Linked DNA regions of Homo sapiens: region 2 is linked to region 1. The links are contacts of gene promoters, found by promoter capture Hi-C in human tissues and cell types (Jung and others, 2019). All regions are on one chromosome and are shown on one strand. The core of a region is centred on a gene start or on the middle of the fragment in contact, and the rest is flanking DNA. Distances in the headings are between cores, read along the strand shown.

What was found. Contacts are between HindIII fragments. The study calls those that stand out against the background at their distance.
Region 2: a contact is called between a fragment that was not itself captured here and the fragment with the promoter of ANKAR in region 1, in 1 of the 25 tissues and cell types used here (lymphoblastoid cells).

The regions. Positions count from the first base shown.
Region 1 is chr2:189,672,867-189,676,132 of GRCh38, reverse strand. It overlaps ANKAR (ankyrin and armadillo repeat containing), which reads right to left and starts at 1,463. Exons shown (of 23, transcript NM_001378068.1): 1 at 1,303-1,463. LOC105373793 (a long non-coding RNA gene) reads left to right here and starts at 1,848. Exons shown (of 2, transcript XR_923692.3): 1 at 1,848-2,302; 2 at 2,740-3,013. RefSeq lists an enhancer at 1,078-1,337 and a silencer at 1,388-1,807. The HindIII fragment of the contact is 7,879 bases long and covers 1-3,266 here.
Region 2 is chr2:190,825,930-190,829,195 of GRCh38, reverse strand. No RefSeq gene overlaps it. Among named protein-coding and RNA genes, the nearest start is that of GLS, 53 kb to the left of the region's middle. The HindIII fragment of the contact is 3,155 bases long and covers 67-3,221 here.

The DNA.
Region 1 (3,266 bases), core at 214-2,713:
TCTTTTGTATATGTTCGTGTTAGTCTGTTTGTGTTGCTATAAAGGAATACCTGAGACTGCATAATTTATAAAGAAAAGAGGTTTATTTGGCTCACAATTCTGCAGGCTGTACAAGCATGGCACCAGCATCTGCTCAGCTTCTTGTGAGACCAAGCTTACAATCATGGCGGAAGGGGAAGGGGAGCCAGTGTGTCACATGGTAAGAGACGGAACAATAGAGAGAAAGGGGAGGTGTCTACTCTTAAACAACCAGATCTTTCATGAGCTCAGAGGTAGAGTTCACTCTGCCAGGAAAGCACCAAGCCATTCATGAGGGATCCACCCCCATAATCCAAACACCTCGCACCAAGCCCTACCTCCAACATTGGGGAATCTATTTTAACATGAGATTTGGAGGGGATAAATATCCAAATCATATGGATATTTATTTTGTTTTCAGTTTTTTAAAGCAAGACTATACTGACCTGCATGAAAGAAAAGAAAAGGGTGGGGCGCAGTGGCTCATGCGTGTAATCCCAGCACTTTGGGAGGCCAAGTCGGGCAGATCAACTGATGTCAGGAGTTCGAGAACAGCCTGACAAACATGGAGAAACTCCGTCTCTACTAAAAATACAAAATTAGCCAAACGTGGTCGTACATGCCTGTAATCTCAGCTACTCGCGGGGCTTGAGACAGGAGGCTGAACCCAGGAGGCGGAGGTTGCGGTGGCCTGGGCAACAAGTGTGAAAAACACTGTTTCAAAAAAAGAAAAAAAAAAGAAAAAGAAAAGGAAAGAAGCATTTGCTTAACCTTCAATTTCTGTGCCAATGAATGCCTGTCTATTCCTGAAATAATAATAACCACAACTACTATTTATTGAGCCAGGTTCTTTACTATATAATGGTTTGATTTATTTCATCTGATTGGTCTCTATTATATAGTGGTTCTCAAAATTTAGCTTGTATCAAAATCACCTGGGGCTTGTTCAAATACAAATCGCTGAATCCCACCACTGAGTTTCTGATTCAATGAGCTGTAGTGGGGCCAGAAAATATGCGTTTTAGTAAAGTTACAGGAAATGCTGATAGTGCTGGTTTGGGCGCCACACCTGAGACCCCAGGTCAGTGAGTCAGACCTTGTTATGCCCACTTTATAGAGGCAAAAACGGAGACCAGGAGGTTGCAGGACAAGTCTGAGGTTTTACGCCTTTCAGAAACAGAACCCACGTCTGTCCAGTCAAGCCCGGGACCCACGTCCAAAAGCAGCTCGCGTCAGCCATGGGCACGGGAAAGGGGAAAAAACAAGGAAAGGGGAGGAACCTACTCTAGAATGGCTGTTTTCTTGTCCGGGAGAGGGACGCTGCGTCCGCGGCGTTCCCGTGGGGCTGAGAACAGTCGTCGCCGCCTCAGATGGCTTCTCGCGGGGCCTTGAATCCGCCCTCAGGGCCTCCGCAAGGGCGAGCGGGAGGCGCACCGGAAGGAACTGAGAGGAACTTTCAGGGCTTTTCGCCCCACCGTGGCGGCCCGGCCCTCCTCGCCTCGCCGGCCAACACTGCCGCCGCCCGGGCGCGGGTCGAAGCGGTTGGTCCTCCGGGCCCTGGGGTGGCTGGGCTGCTCCTCGGGCGGAGCCTGCGGGCGACTAGGCCTGGTGCGTCCCGCAGCAGCCGCAGCGCCCCCAGGCGGCGCCCGGCCCCTTGGCTGGCTCAGACCCCCCGCGTGCGCATCATCCCAAGCCCGCTTAGCGCTTAGTCCAGCGGCATGCCGTGGGCACTGTGCCGCCCTCACTATCTGCCTCTGCTAAAACACCGAAACAGAGTAGCAGAGGAGACAGCGCCGGGCGTTGAGGCAGTCCCGAGTTGGAATACCACCTCCATCATCATTCTTTCATTCAACAAGCATTTATGGAACACCTATTATGAGTCAGGCACCCAGCTACAAGCTGGAAACCCTAGAAAACAGGGCAGACACGAAACCCCAAGGAGCTTACAGTTGAACAGATCATCTCACAGCTATATTTAACAGTGTGCCAATATTAGATGGAATGACAGCACTCGAATGAAAGCTAACCTAGCCCAGGGCTAGGAAAGGCTGCCTAAGGAAGTGCCCTTTTCCCCTCCGAGCCTAGAAGATGGAAAAGAGCTACCCAAGCAAAGGACTGGACAAGTAGCTTTTCAGGAACAGGGAACAGCAGGAGAGAAAGAATTGAAGTGAGAACAAAGTTGAAATGGTTGAGAAACCGCAAAACCCTGCTTAGAGAACAAGAGAGATGTGGGCACAAACCGAGCTGCTGAGGTGCGCGATGGACAGATCATGCAGGCTGCTGAGTAATGATTTTGAATTTCATCCCAAAGGATTAGCCTACAGTAGTGGCAGTGGAGGTGGGGCTCAGGGACTGTGGACAGATTTGAAAAATAATGAGGTTGCCTGTTGGTGACAGATTGGGGATATGTTGAAAAAGAAGGTTGTGTCCAAGTCAGAACCACATTTCTGTCAGGAGCAACAGGATATCAGGGCAAGATTAAGAGTTCAGTTATGTACTAATTGACCTTGAAGTACCTGTGAGAGAAATTGAGATGTGAGATATGCTTTAGATAAACAGTTCTGGGCTAAGAATGGCAGTAGGGGTTAGATGTATAAATTTTGGCAGATTTATAGTAATTGAAGCCAGGAGTGGGGTTGAAATCACCAAGGGAGAGCGTGCAGAATGAGGAGTTGAGAACCAAGGATTAGAGACCTGAGAAATTTAACATTTAAACGTCAGGTAGAGAGAGTGAAGTCAGCAAAGAAGACAAAAAGAACAGCCAAGAAGGCAGGAGGAAAACCAAAATTGGTCACAGAAGCCAAAGAAGTGTGTGGAAAAAAAAAAAGGAATGGCCAACTTTATCGGATGCTGCTGCTCGGTCAGGGGAGATGAGAACAAACTTCCACTGAATGCAGCAGCTTGGAAGTTCTTGGTGACTGTTTGGGGCAGAATTTCTCTTCCAGTAACCATGTCATTATTTTAGCTACTATGGAAATAAATATTAATAAATTTATGAGGACTATTCCAGGGCTTTTTTTTTTACAAAGATTTGCATGTTTGCACTTAAGAAATATGAACCATATATGTACATTCTCCTACTTCAAGGATTGTTTCCCCCTGGGTAGCCAAATGGTTTGTTCCATGTGTCTCAAATCTTCGGAAAGAGATGCCTCATTTTTTAAAGGATCAACACAGAACTCCATCCCAGAGCTAATGGGATTGAATAGCAGAAGGTTGTAAATGCCCAGGCCCTCTTGGGGTTCACA
Region 2 (3,266 bases), core at 395-2,894, 1.2 Mb before region 1:
AGAAAGTCATATGGCAGGTTAGTGAAAAACTCTTTTAGCTTTAACATAGGTATCTGAGGGGCTAGGCCAGGGATAAATGGCTTAGAATCACCTATTCCCTTGTTATTCCTCTTTTGCTGATTATATGTGAACATAGTAAAAGCATCAGAGTAATACGGAGAAAGTGAACTAACAATTTGGAGCATTTAAATGTCTATATAACCATGTATCTTTGTAATTTTTAAATAAATGCAATCATCATATTCTATAAACTTTTTCAAATATAAAGATCTACTTTCTAATTTTTGAATGAGGATTCTGTTGTTGGATGTACCATAATTTATTTGACCAAATCCTTTTTAATGGAGTTAATGTTGCTCATCGTCACCTAATTATCAACTAAGCTCCTTGTACACAAACATCCTTGCACATACGTCTATTATTCCTTAGGATAAATTCTTAGAAGATTTGGTGAATCAATGTTGAATAGAGTTACAATTTTGATAAATACAAAAGAGAATGCTTTCCACAGAGTTTGTAGTAGCATGGAGGACAGGTTGGAGGGTCTGAGGCCCTCCCATCAGCTGTGAATAAGGATAATCATTTTCCCTTACCTTCACTAGACTGGATATTATCAATCTTTTTCATTTATGCCCATCTAAAAGCTTTAAAAATTATACTTCATATTTGAATTTAAATTTTTTAAAATTATAGTAAGCATTCCATATTTGTTCATGCTTCTGTATTTTGCCTATATATTAAATATATATATATATATGTATCTATAGGCCATTTAAGTTGTGGTATTCAGTTTTTATTTGATTTATAAAGGCTATTTATATATATAATACTAACATATATGTCAATATTTAATATATACATCTCTACCCTTAATTTTCTTGATGCAGATATGATCTCTTCAAGAAGGTCTCATTCCCTCTGAACGAATATTTAGATCATTCTCAATGACTTAATGGGAGTGCCCATGTATGCCAAAATTTCTGCTGGGATCCTTGCTGGGTTTGAAATGAAAATCATGGTGTTAGAAATTATAGATTGTGGTCTAATGGAAAGGTATTACTTGTTCAAAAGAAGCAGAGAATGAGATATAAGGTAATGGCAGAAACAATATAGAAGAACGGCACATGTGTATAGAAATTTATTAGTCTAATCCTGGAACTTTGGTGGAGAGTCCTTAGATGAGATTTTCAAAAGTAAAAAACCTTGCACAATCTGTAAAGACCTGCCTGGCTCCTAGCCTCTCTAATCCTCCCTTGGTCACAGCTAAGAGTCTTCAACATTTGCCTCTAGTAGTGGTTCTTTAAGTGGCTGTACACTGGAATCACCTGGGGAACTTTAAAAACTACCAATCCCTGAGCACCACTTCAGAAGTTCTGAAGTACTACTGTCCCTCGGTGTCTTCTGGGGATTGGTTCCAGGATGTACCTCCCCATACCCTGTGTGGATACCAAAATCCGAAGATACTCAATTTCCTTACATAAGATGGTATAGTATTTGCATATAATCAGCACACATCCTCCTGTACACTTTAAATCATCTGTAAATTACTTACAATGCCCAATATAATATAAATGCTATATAAAAATTATACCATACTATTTTAACTTGTATTATTTTTATTGTTGTATTGCTATTTTTTCCAAATATTTTAATCCAAAGTGGGTTGAATCTGTGGATACAGAACCAGTAGATACAAAGGGCTGACTGTAATTGGTTTGTGGTTGGGATTTTTTTAGAGCTCCACAGGTGATTCTAACATGCAGCCAGGGTTGCAAGCCACGGACAGAGGGACTAAGCACCAAGACTTTGGGAATAATTTAAACTTAGAATAGAGAGCTATAGTGACCTCTAATTCAGAGCACATTAATCTTGCTTGTTCTCACTTCAGAGTACTAGAATGACAGAAGACAGAGAGAGGAGAAGAAAAATTATTGGAAGAAATGTTAATCTATACGTCCAATAAACTCAACAAACTCCAATTAGGATAAATACAAAGAAATCCACACCTAGACACATTGTAATCAAAATATTAAAAGCCAAAGATAGAGAAACTCTGGAAAGCTTTATGAGAAAACAACTTATCACATGCAAGAGAATCCTAATAAGATAACCAGCTGACTTCCCATTATAAACAATGGAGGCCGGAGGCAAGGAATGACATATTTAAAGTGCTAAAAATAAAAAAATAAAAATTCAATCAAGAATCTTATATCCAGCATGCCTGTCTTTCAAAAATGAAGGCAAAATAAAGATACTCCCAGATAAACAAGTGAATTCATTGCTAGCAGGCTTGCCTTGTGAGAAAGCTAATTAGGTAATTATAATATACAATATAATTGCATATTTCTTCTTCTCTAAATGATTTAAAAATCAATAGTGTGAAACTTAGAAATAGAAACATAAAAATCCTCAATGAAATACCAGCAAATAAAATCCAGTGACATACAAGAAGGATTATACCCCATGACCAAGTGGGTTTTATTTCAGGAATGATTGGGTTAACATTTGAAATCAATTAATGTAATATACTATATCAACAGGATGAAAGACAAAAATCAAACAAGTATCTCAATAGATGCATAAAAAGCATTTGATAAAATCAACATTCTTTAATTATAAAAGCACTCAACAAATTAGGAATAAAAGGGAATTTTTTCAATCTGTTAAAAGGCATCTACAAAAACCCATAGCTCATCATATTAAAATTAGGAAAGATACAAGGGTGTCCACTCTTGCCACTTACATGACATTGTCCTGGAGGTTCTAGTCAAAGGAATTAGGCAAGAAAAAAAAAAAGACAACTGGATTGCAAAGGAAGAGGGGAAACAACCTCTATTTGCAGATCATTTGATCTTTTTTTTTTTTTTAAGATGGAGTCTCACTCTGTCGCCCAGGCTAGAGTGCAGTGGCGTGATCTCGGCTCACTGCAAGCTCCACCTCCCGGGTTCATGCCATTCTCCTGCTTCAGCCTCCCGAGTAGCTGGGACTACAGGTGACTGCCACCACGCCCAGCTAATTTTTTGTATTTTTAGTAGAGACGGGGTTTCACTGTGTTAGCCAGGATGGTCTTGATCTCCTGACCTTGTGATCTGCCCACCTCCACCTCCCAAAGTGCTGGGATCACAGGCATGAGCCACCATGCCCGGCCAATCATTTGCTCTTAAATGTAAAAAATCTTACAGAATCTATTAAAAGAGGATGAGAATTAACAAAGAAGTTTAATAGGTACATCATTCCAGTAATTCCTTATCACAAACTGGGTATCC